3 separate regions of the Homo sapiens genome follow, and regions 2 and 3 are each linked to region 1. The links are contacts of gene promoters, found by promoter capture Hi-C in human tissues and cell types (Jung and others, 2019). All regions are on one chromosome and are shown on one strand. Each heading gives the region's core, a stretch centred on a gene start or on the middle of the fragment in contact. The rest is flanking DNA. Distances are from core to core; before and after follow the strand shown.

Region 1 (3,692 bases), core at 758-3,257:
TTCTCTAGAAATCACATGGACAAGACAGCATCTACTGCGGACTGACCCGGAGAAGGGCCGGGCACAAAGTAAAACCAGTGTGTAACATGAGCAAAATCATGGGTGAGAACAAAGTTTTTAACTGCTCATGTTGCCTGATTTTCTTTAAGGTTTTGTGTTTTAATTAAGAGACCAAGCGTGTTTGGCAGTAGTTTCTACCACAGGTTTTGAGAGATGAACTGCAAGGAAGAGAACAGACACCTTCATCTAAATAGATGTACTATTTCCATTGGTTGGTCCCCATCATGAATTTCCCATTTTGTTGTGATTGGCGTATGAAACTATGAGTTAACCTTTCCTCTATTTAATTTTAGAATTCATCAATTCCAAAGAGAAAGAAGCCTACAAATAAAGCCCAGGGGTACATTCCCATTTCTGTCTATAGGGGACCTGTGGGCACACAGCCTGAGGAGCAGCCCCACTTACTTGAAGGCTGGGGATTCTAAAGACCTCCTCCAAACGGCACAGACCACTTTCACTCAAGTCTAAAATCGGTGAGGAGGAAAAGATGATGCCTCCAACACCCTTGTGAACATCTTTGGAGGGGGTGGCAGGCAAGCTCCTAGTCTGACCAGCACCCTCCTCCAGATCAGCAGCAGCCACAGAGGGAACTTCGTAGGAGCTGCTTCCCTCCATCCGTTCTCTTCCAGGGACAGCAGCTCATCCTCCTTGGTCTGGAGTCACCTGGAGACACGGGAAAGGGAAACGTAGAAGCAACTAATTATACCGAGGCAAAACAGAATAGCTGTGTGGCAGATCTACTGTAATGTAACTTGCTTTAAAAGCTATCATTTTTCCTAAGCAGTAGCAAAAATTTGACTTTTAAACATGTAAAAAAAAAAAAAAGGAATACAAAGAGGTTCAGATTAAAATTCTCTGCTCTCACTTTGTACAATGGAGTTCCAAGATTTAACTCCTGGAAAACGCAAAGGCGCACAATAGTAATGATCATTTTAGGGATGTAAACAGATCGGAACATTTCAAAGCCTGTAAATCAACTGCAACGCTTCCATGAAATGACTAGGGGCGGGTGGAAATTTGCACTGTTTCTTACCTCTGGTGTGGTTCTGTGCCATTTGAACTATGTTTTTAGTTTCTTGAGGCCAGGAAGCCTGTCTTTTGTTTACCATTTTGACCCAGTGACCAGAACTAAGTCTGGCTTACACCCAGTTAAGCACCGGGGAAAAACCTGTTAAATTAATCTCGAATTTTCGTTGTCCAGCAACACTTTTACTCAGAAGTATTGTTCACCAAAATCTCATTCAGCGAGGCACACTTCCACTTGCAATTTCCAAACAATTTATTCGGCAATAAGAATCAACGTTGGAATGCATCAGTTCACCTAATTCAAGTCACTCAACAGCCCAATGATTGGCATATGAGGCGCAGATCAGTTAGGGAACTGTTCCAGGGGCGCAGTTAATTGGGGGGTAGAGGCGACACCGGGACCCAGCAGGGTTCAACCCCAGGCAGCCTGCATTCCATGGAAGCCCGCGGGCTTTTTCACGGTCAGTTCACTTGTTTTCTCCGAATCACGGAACTTAAAACAGAGGAGGGGAGGCTTCAAACCTCAGAACAGGGAAAGTATCTTAAAACCAGAAGTGAAACAACAGCCTGGACTCACACAGGGCCCAGGCAGCGCAGGCTCCGTGGGGTTTCCGAGGCTGCCTTCAAGGGATCCCCACGCACGCCCACCCCCGCTCCCTGCCTCGATTTCCCCATCCGGGCGAGGCTGAGTTGGGTCCGACGCTCTGGGCCTCACATTCCAGGCCTCAGAAGGGCAGCCTTTGCGGTCAGCATCGCGGCTGGAGCTAGGCGACAGGGCACGACGGGCCGAGGCACCACCTTCCTGCCGCCGCCCGCCTCGAGGGCTCAGCGAGCTGGCCGTACCCGCCCCGTCTCACCTGCCGCGTCCCCGCCCACTGAAGCGCTGGCGAGCCCCGCCGCTGAGAGCAGCAGCCCGACAATGGAGGCCACCCAGCCAACGCGGTCGCCATGGAGACGCCGGTACGGAATCCCGCAGGCGCCACGCTGAGCGCGAGTGTGTCTGTGATGCGCCTGCGCGAGGGGTGTGGTGCGCCTGCGCGCGGGGGTGTGCGTGTTGTGGGGGTTTGTGCCTGCGTGCGGGGGCGGGGTGTGGGTGCCCCTGCGCGGCAGGGGGTCGGGTGTGGTGCGCCTGCCCGGGAGGGGGCGGGGTGTGGTGCGCCTGCGCTGGGGCGGGGGGTTGCGCTTGCGGTGGGGGGGTTGTGGTGCGCCTGCGCGGGGGTGGCAGGGGGTGGTGCGCCTGCGCACGCACGCGGCCAACGGTAGCATCCGTTTTTCCGCGCCCGCGGCCTTGAAGGGGTGGTGGTCGACGGGCAAGTAGAGACCGCGAGGGTCTGGAGGGGCGACCGGCCTGGCACAGAGGGGAAGGAAGAGAGCGGGATGCTAAGTGCCGTCTGGGGAGCCGGAGGGCCCGGGGCGGGCGGGGCTGCTCGAGGACAGCCGAGCAGAAAAGAATTGCTGCTGAGGCACCACCTTTGGAGCGGTCCTCGCTGCCTGTCCTTCCCGCTGGGCTCACTCCCCGCGTCTCTCCTGGGGCTTCCTGGAGCCACTTCCCACAGGAGCTGCTTGTCCCCAAATCTTGCCTCAGGACTTGCTGCCAGGGGAACGCAGACTCAGAGCGTCCTCTTTGGAGAAGTAAGGCTGCCTCTGGACGGAGGAGTGAGGGGGGCGAGGAAACGCAGTGAGTGTCCTGAGGAAGGGTTTTGAGAATTTGGAAGAAGATGAAATGACACCGGGCGGGAGGGGAGGTGCTCGCGTGGTCCTGTGGAACCCTGGAGTCCCGTGCACCTTCATTCCAGGATCCAACTGATAATGAAAAGTAGCACCCTCTGTCCCACCCAGAAACACTCTGGAAACCCGGACAGTTTAGCTGGAGTCTGCCATGATTTCACTTTTTTTTTTTTTTTTTTTTTTTTGAGGTGGAGTCTTGCTTTGTCTCCCAGGCTGGAGTGCAGTAGCGCGATCTCGGCCCACTGCGACCTCCGCCTCCCAGGTTCAAGCAATTCTCCTGCCTCAGCCTCCCCAGTAGCTGGGACTACAGGCGCGCGCCACCACGTCCAGCTAATTTTTGTATTTTTAGTAGAGACGGGGTTTCATCATGTTGGCCAGGCTGGTCTCGATCTCCTGACCTCATGATCCGCCCCCCTCGGCCTCCCAAAGTGCTGGGATTACAGGCATGAGCCACCGTGCCCGGCCTGATTCCACTTTTTAAAGGAAACGACATAATTATGTGGAGAAACGACTATCCACTTTGAGGGGATTTACGTTTTATTTTTGTGAAGAGATCACAGTAAGAAATGTTTTTTAGGCCGGACACGATGGCTCACGCCTGTAACCCTAGCACTTTGGGAGGCCAGGGTGGGAAGATCGCTTGAGGCCAGGAGTTGGAGACCAGCCTGGGCAACCCAGTCTCTACAAAAATTAAAAAAAAAAAAAAAAAAAAATGCTGGGTGTGGTGGCACACACCTGTAGTTCCAGCTGTGTGGGAGGGTGAGGCAAGAGGATCGCTTGAACCTAGGATTTTGAGGCTGCAGTGAGTTATGATTGTGCCACTTAATGTCAGCTTCGGTGACAGCGAGACCCTGTCTCAAAAAAAAAGTTTTCGTACA
Region 2 (3,431 bases), core at 333-2,832, 260 kb before region 1:
GGAGTTTGTGACCAGCCTGGCCAACATCACAAAACCCCATCTCTACTAAAAATAGCTGGGTGTGGTGGCGCCCGCCTGTAGTCCCAGCTACTTGGGAGGCTGAGGCAGGAGAATCACTTGAACCCGGGAGGCGGAGGCTGCAGTGAGCTGAGGTCGTGCCACTGCACTCCAGCCTGGGCCACAGAGCAAGACTCCATTTCAAACAAACAAACAAACAAACAAACAAACATTTTTGCCCCACTTAGATTTTGTTTTGGTATAATGTCTATAGTAAGACCCCAATTTAAACCTTTCCCCGAATAGTTAACAAACTATCTTACAATGGATTGTTAAACTGTATGAATCCTCCTGTTCCTCACACTACTATGCAGTCAACCTGCCCCTCCCTCTCTCAGGTAGCTTTACCAAATGTGTGCTTCATTTATGTTTTCAAACTGTTGCCATTTCCTTAATTTGCTGTCTTTCTGGGGTTTTTTTCTGTATTTTATTCAATAATTTTTGGATTTATATAATCCTTCCGTAATTCCCTCATTTATGGCACAGTTCTATACTCTAGCCTTATAAGTGAAACGCTTTGTCTTTTCACTGTTATTATTTCTTGTTTAATAGCAACAACGCTGAATACCACGCTGAATACCACATGAGACGTGGATTCGAAACATCCCACCCCACACACGCTGACACCTCATCCCAGAGCCGGCTCTTTCCTCCTGGGCAAACCCAGTCATTCCCTCGGACAAGGAAACACAGCAAGGGCGCCCGTTACGCCCAGTGCCATTTCACCTGACATATCGGGGGAGGGAATGAGACCCGAAAGGGAACACATGCAGAGGCGCAGCTCCGGGAAAGGAGATCTGAGCTCCCTGCACCTGCAGATGGCGTCACAGCACACCTGGAGGGGCAGAGAAGCAGGCAGAAAAAGGACAGACAACAGGAGAATCCAGGAAAGCAGGAGGTCCTGAAATTAACAGACAAAACAACAGCCATCACAGACACCAACAACAACCAGGCGGAAGGCCTGCTGGAAGAGAAGGCCCGCTTCCAATGCAACAAGGAAAAAGGTAACCTCACAAACGACCTTTTGCATATGTGAACATTGTGTAAGAGAAAAACTTTAAGACATTCCTGAAGGAAACGAACAAAAGCTTTGAGTCCATGAAAAGACCTCTCTTGTTTCCAGGGACCATGACTCGGCGCCATAGAGCTGTCAGTCCTCTCCAAGCGAGCGCAGAAATAGCCCTGGCCTGTCCCACAGCCTGCCAGCGGCCCGCCCCGCCCAGCCCAAACCAGACAAGGTGATTCTAAAGTTCATATGGAAAAATAAACTATGACTCAAAATCCAAACACAATCCTTAAAAAGAGTGAGTCAACTCTAACTTTTTTTAAACTTTGGCATGGCAAAATCAAAAGACAAATGTCAAACTGGTTGAAAATATTTGCAATATATATCACAGATAATTAATCTTCTTGCAATTGAAAGAACTCTTAAAAGTCAAGGGAAAATACAAAACAAAACAAAACTGATGGAAAAACGGGCAAAGGACCCATAGAGGAGTCACAGAAGATCCCCAAATGGCGTCATACATGAGGAGCCTCCTCCCGCCAAGCTGGGAGTGGGGCGATGCCACCTTCCCTGTGACAGCAGCCTGGGCCCCCAGAGCTGATGGCACAAGAAGCGCCCAAGCTCACCTTGGTAATGTTCCTGCCCAAAATCTCTAAGTGAAAACCATGGAGCAACCAACTACCTAACTAACCACGGACAGGACACAGCTAACCACGGAGCGAGCAATGACCACAGTGACCCACACGGCAGGCTGCCCTAAAGACAAGTGGGCTAGACTCTTTCAGATGGCAATGCCAGAAAGAGCAAAGCAGGGGCCGAGATGAAAAGACTCAAACACTCACGACCTCCAAAGACGGCACGTGGCCCCTGTGTACATCCAGGAAGAGGAAGAGGGGACTCAACGCTACCGAGGCTGTCTGGAAGCAACGGGGTGCGGTGATTCTAGACGCGACGCTTGAGATCACTGCACCGAGGACCCATCGCTGGAGGGTGCGACCAGCATGGTGGTCGGAACATCCTCGAACGCAGGCCCCACTGACATCTTTACACGTGTCGCAATGTCCACACCTGTGTTCCAACAGTGTCTCCCCCACACTCCTCTGTGCCCCAGGAGGTGTTGGACACAGCCAGCCTGACTTCCCAGCCTCCCTGCCGGCAGACAGCTGCTGGAAACCACCTGCACTCCTAGCGCGGACAGTGTGGGGGACATCATGGAGGCCGCACTGTCCCTCCCCACACAGAACGGCATCATCACAGACGGAGACGATACTGTCAGTCCCCACACAGGACGGCGTCACCACGGATGAAGGCCACACTGTCCCTCCCCACAGGACGGCATCTGACCACTGCAGGAGGCCCCATCCCACAGGACGGCATCTGACCACTGCAGGAGGCCGCATCCCTGGCGTCCCTCGCCAGCCACATACCTTGACCAATTATTTCAAGCCAACTTCTGGAAAGCCCAGGTGCCATAACTCTCAGCCACCTTCGAGCCTCCACTTGTAGACCGTGTCCTTTTCCAGCCGTGTTGACAATGTGAAACCATCCGTGCAGGAGCCATGGGTCTCGTCGAGGGGCTCCCCGAGGCCTGGCATGGCATTGCACATCGGTGCCCTCCCACCACGCCCTGCTCCAGCCTCCTCTGTGACCTCCCTGTGCTGGCGCCAGGCGTGGCCCTGGGTGGAGGCTGTGGGCTCCCTGGCATGGGATAACCTGCGTCACCCCCTAACCCCACAACACCCCTCGCACTGCTGGTCTGCACAGGGCGAGAGTGGAAAGCCAGGAGCGTCTCTTGGAGTCCGAGGCCACCTCTGGTCTGTCTGCTCTCTGAAGGCCATGAGACAACACCGTTTGGGAGGACAGGGCAGCAGGGCCATCCCTCTCCCACTCACCAAGCACTGCCTGGGCCCTGGCTGGCAGGGAGCACTCGGGGTTCTGGGACACACAAGACCCACAAGCTGTGCAGTGCACACCGGCAAGAAACCTCTACAGGCAGAAGGCTTCCCAAGGCAGGACTCCGTCCCAACAGGAAGAAAATGCTGGAAGCAGTGGAGGCTGTGGCCAGTGGGGCCTGAGGAAGGACAGGAGGGGCGAGTGCCTCGGCTTGGACCGCGGCCCCTACCGGAGGCCCTGGCAAAGGGACCCTCAGGGTTTGGAACCAGGTGCCCACATTCTGACCCACCATCCAGGACCTTCTGCAAACTCCACCTTCCCTTTGCCTCAAGAACCCGCACAGCAAGCCTAGTGGGAAGGCACTCCCACAGCTTCCTCGAGCCCGCATGCGCACGTGGCCCTGCAGGGTGTGGGTGCCGCCTGTCAAACGACCCCAGCGCTCCCTCAGCAGGCAGGCAGAGTGAACGCCTGGTCA
Region 3 (3,746 bases), core at 628-3,127, 430 kb before region 1:
CACCCAAGCTCCAAGGCCGCATCCTCCAGCTCCCACCCAAGCTCCGAGGCCGCATCCTCCAGCTCCCACCCAAGCTCCGAGGCCACATCCTCCAACTCCCACCCAAGCTCCCTGAGGCCGCACCTCCGGCTCCCACCCAAGCCCACCCAAGCTCCCTGAGGCCGCATCCTCCAGCTCCCACCCAGGCTCCCTGAGGCCGCACCTCCAGCTCCCAATCTTGCTCCCAGCTGACAGGCAAAGTCCACATCTGCCAGTGGAAGTCCCCTGCGGCTTCCAACAGTGAGAACTGCTCTGTGCTGGCAAATCTGCATAAAAATGCACACAAACATCCACACCCAGGCACACATCTCCACGCGTGAACACACACACATGTGCACACACATCCGTGGAGCACAGCCACATGCATGAGCCCTACACACGTCACACATGTTCTCACTCATGCTCTCACTCATGCTCACATATGCAACCATGTACGCGAGCACACCTTATGCACACACATCCACAACTGTGTGACGCACGCCCCACGCACATCTGCACCAGGTCTGCACACACACGGACACCCACGCAACATCTGCACATTCAAACCCAGGCACACACACGCATGCCTTAAACACATCCACACCCACATAGACACACTGCATTTGGAGGCCCCGATATTGCCAGAAAGATCCATAACACACAGTCCCCGTAGGTCCCTCGTGAGCAAGTCTGATAAGAAAGTATTTTGCATATTGGAAAAAACCTTTTTTGGAAAAAGATAACAGAATTACTTATTACTCTCAGCTGCTTTTTTCATGTCATGAAAAGGGCAGGAGAAGGTGCAGTTTGCACACAAGTGCAGGACACACAGATACATGTGCACACACAAAAACACTATGCACACAAGAACACACACGTGCACACACAGATGCACACGTGCACACACAGATGCACAGGTGCACACACAGATGCACTCGTGCACACACACTCGTGCACATGTGCACACACACAGACGCATACGTTCACACACAGACGCACCTGTGCACACAGATGCACAACACACACGTGTACACACAGGTATGGTACACACACTCTGGATGCACACAGAATGCACACACTCATGCCCAGCACAAACTGGCACACACAGACACGCAGATGCACCAGAGACTGGGAGGGTGGAGACGCCACCTTCCCGGCCGGGTTCATCCAGCAAACAGCATGTTCCATACCTGGGAGGGAACGAGATGTCCAGTTCATACAGTCTGTCCTTAAAGACAGACAACTCCTTGTCAAACTCCAAGAGCTAAAGAAAAGAAAGAGCAGAAAATAAAGTCACATTGGTTTTCCTCGCTGGGGGCACGTGTGTCTGTGTGCAGCTGGGACGCTCAAATGCTCGGTGTGACATCTGCTCTTCCCAGAGCCGCCACATCTGTCACCAGAAAGCTCTGTGGTGCCAGCAGGCTCTGGTGTTCGCCTGCCTCTGCTGCAGACAGTGGGACCTGCCCTGCCCGTTATAGATGTGCTCTGCCCACCCATAAAGCTTTCTCTGTTGGTGACGCCAGAGAAGCACTCATGGCCTCGGGCACTGCCGTGGCAGCCCCAGTAGCAGCCCCTCTCGGCCTCTCCTCCCTAGTGCTGGCTCCCCCAGCAGAGGGAACACAGCTCCTGTCCTGCCCAGAGTGTCAAGTAACCTGCAGAGTGAGCAATGTCAGCTTTGTGAGAACAGGTCAGGGAAAATGGCCCCAAGGTGCACACTGGTGAGATTCTGGCAGCAGTTCGGGGGCAAAATGTTCATTCTCACATGCACGGGAGGCAGCAAATGGCCTTGCCCCCTGAGACTCTTCCAAAACAAGCCCCAGGCGGGCATCACCTCCCACACCTGCAGGACTGGCCCACCGTGTTTCTGAGCGGTCACCACACACACCCTCCCACCCCTGCAGGACTGGCCCGACCATGTTCCTGAGTGTCACCACGCACACCCTCCCACCGCAGCAGGACTGACCCGGTCGTGTTTCTGAGTGTCACCACGCACACCCTCCCACCCCTGCAGGACTGGCCCGGCCGTGTTCCTGAGTGTCACCACGCACACCCTCCCACCGCAGCAGGACTGACCCGACCGTGTTCCTGAGTGTCACCACGCACACCCTCCCACCCCTGCAGGACTGGCCCGACCGTGTTCCTGAGTGTCACCACGCACACCCTCCCACCACAGCAGGACTGACCCGGCCGTGTTTCTGAGTGTCACCACACACACCCTCTCAACCCTGCAGGACTGGCCCGACCGTGTTTCTGAGTGTCACCACGCACACCCTCCCACCGCAGCAGGACTGGCCCGACCGTGTTCCTGAGTGTCACCACACACACCCTCCCACCACAGCAGGACTGACCCGGCCGTGTTTCTGAGTGTCACCACGCACACCCTCCCACCCCTGCAGGACTGGCCCGTGTTCCTGAGTGTAACCACGCACACCCTCCCACCCCTGCAGGACTGGCCCGGCCGTGTTCCTGTCACCATGCACACCCTCCCACCCCTGCAGGACTGGCCCGACCGTGTTCCTGAGTGTCACCACACACACCCTCCCACCCCTGCAGGACTGACCCGACCGTGTTTCTGAGTGTCACCACGCACACCCTCCCACCGCAGCAGGACTGACCCGACCGTGTTCCTGAGTGTCACCACACACACCCTCTCAACCCTGCAGGACTGGCCCGGCCATGTTCCTGTGCGGTCACCATGCACACCCTCTCTGGTGCTATTCATTAGTCATGGCCCCACAGCTGTGCAGGGCATGGCATTGAGCTAGAGCTCCCTCAAAACCACACCATATCCCAGCTCTTCCTGTGACCTCGTCCATTATCCCTGAAATGGGCAATCAGCAGCCTCATGCACACAGTCATTACCCTGTGCCAGGCTGCTACCTGAGCCACCGGCCCAGGCCTCCTGCCTGGAGCACAGGCGTTCACAGCCCCACTGCCTCCTGCCTCCTAAGAGGGTACAGCTCCAGTTCCCCTTCCAGGGAGCAACTCCCTCCCTCCAGCACCCACAGCCTCTGGGAAGGGCCCCAAGTCAGCTCCTAAATGGGGTGGGGATGCAGCGGAGGCCTCGGGAGACGGATGCCCCTCCTCAAAGGCAGAGTAGGGGCATGGGCTCTGGAGCAATTCTGCACATGCGTGTTTATGTGTACACAGGCATGTGTTTGCATGCAGGCACGTTTATGCATGCACAGGCATGTGTGTGTTTGCATGCAGATGTGTTTATGCGTGTACAGGCATGTGTGTTTGCATGCAGGCATGTGTTTATGTGTGCAACGGCATGTGTGTTTGTATGCAGGCATGTGTGTGCATGCAGGCACATGTTTATGCATACACAGGCATGTGTGTGTTTGCATGCAGGCACGTGTTTATGTGTGCACAGGCATGTGTGTGTGCATGCAGGCATGTTTATGTGTGCACAGGCATGTGTGTGTTTGCATGCAGGCATGTTTATGTGTGCACAGGCATGTGTGTGTTTGCATGCAGGCACATGTTTATGTGTGTGTGCATGCAGGCACGTGTTTATGTGTATGCAGGCATGTGTGTCTTTGCATGCAGGCATTTACTCAGATACATTCACACACAGGCCTATAAACACGCATCATCTCTAGGTCATTCTGGAGCTTGAGTTTGAGGCTTCCCCACATCAGAGATGCAGCAGCGTCCCCAGTCCAGCGTGGGCCCTGCTGGCTTCTCAGGTGTGGAGGTGAGGAGGCAGCAGGGAGGCTGCCAGC

The links. Contacts are between HindIII fragments. The study calls those that stand out against the background at their distance.
Region 2: a fragment that was not itself captured here is called in contact with the fragment with the promoter of LRRC27 in region 1 in 1 of the 25 tissues and cell types used here (liver).
Region 3: a contact is called between a fragment that was not itself captured here and the fragment with the promoter of LRRC27 in region 1, in 3 of the 25 tissues and cell types used here (dorsolateral prefrontal cortex, heart right ventricle and hippocampus).

Annotation. Positions count from the first base shown.
Region 1 is chr10:132,330,508-132,334,199 of GRCh38, reverse strand. LRRC27 (leucine rich repeat containing 27) reads right to left here and starts at 2,007. Exons shown (of 11, transcript NM_030626.3): 1 at 1,944-2,007; 2 at 466-723. The coding sequence starts at 675. It also overlaps a transcript of STK32C not described here. RefSeq lists a silencer at 2,186-2,305 and an enhancer at 2,190-2,724. The HindIII fragment of the contact is 23,116 bases long and covers 1-3,692 here.
Region 2 is chr10:132,589,203-132,592,633 of GRCh38, reverse strand. The region is part of intron 1 of INPP5A (inositol polyphosphate-5-phosphatase A); the gene reads right to left. Among named protein-coding and RNA genes, the nearest start is that of INPP5A, 53 kb to the right of the region's middle. The HindIII fragment of the contact is 5,722 bases long and covers 1-3,431 here.
Region 3 is chr10:132,763,309-132,767,054 of GRCh38, reverse strand. It overlaps INPP5A (inositol polyphosphate-5-phosphatase A), which reads right to left. Exons shown (of 16, transcript NM_005539.5): 12 at 1,209-1,282. Among named protein-coding and RNA genes, the nearest start is that of NKX6-2, 21 kb to the left of the region's middle. The HindIII fragment of the contact is 6,162 bases long and covers 1-3,746 here.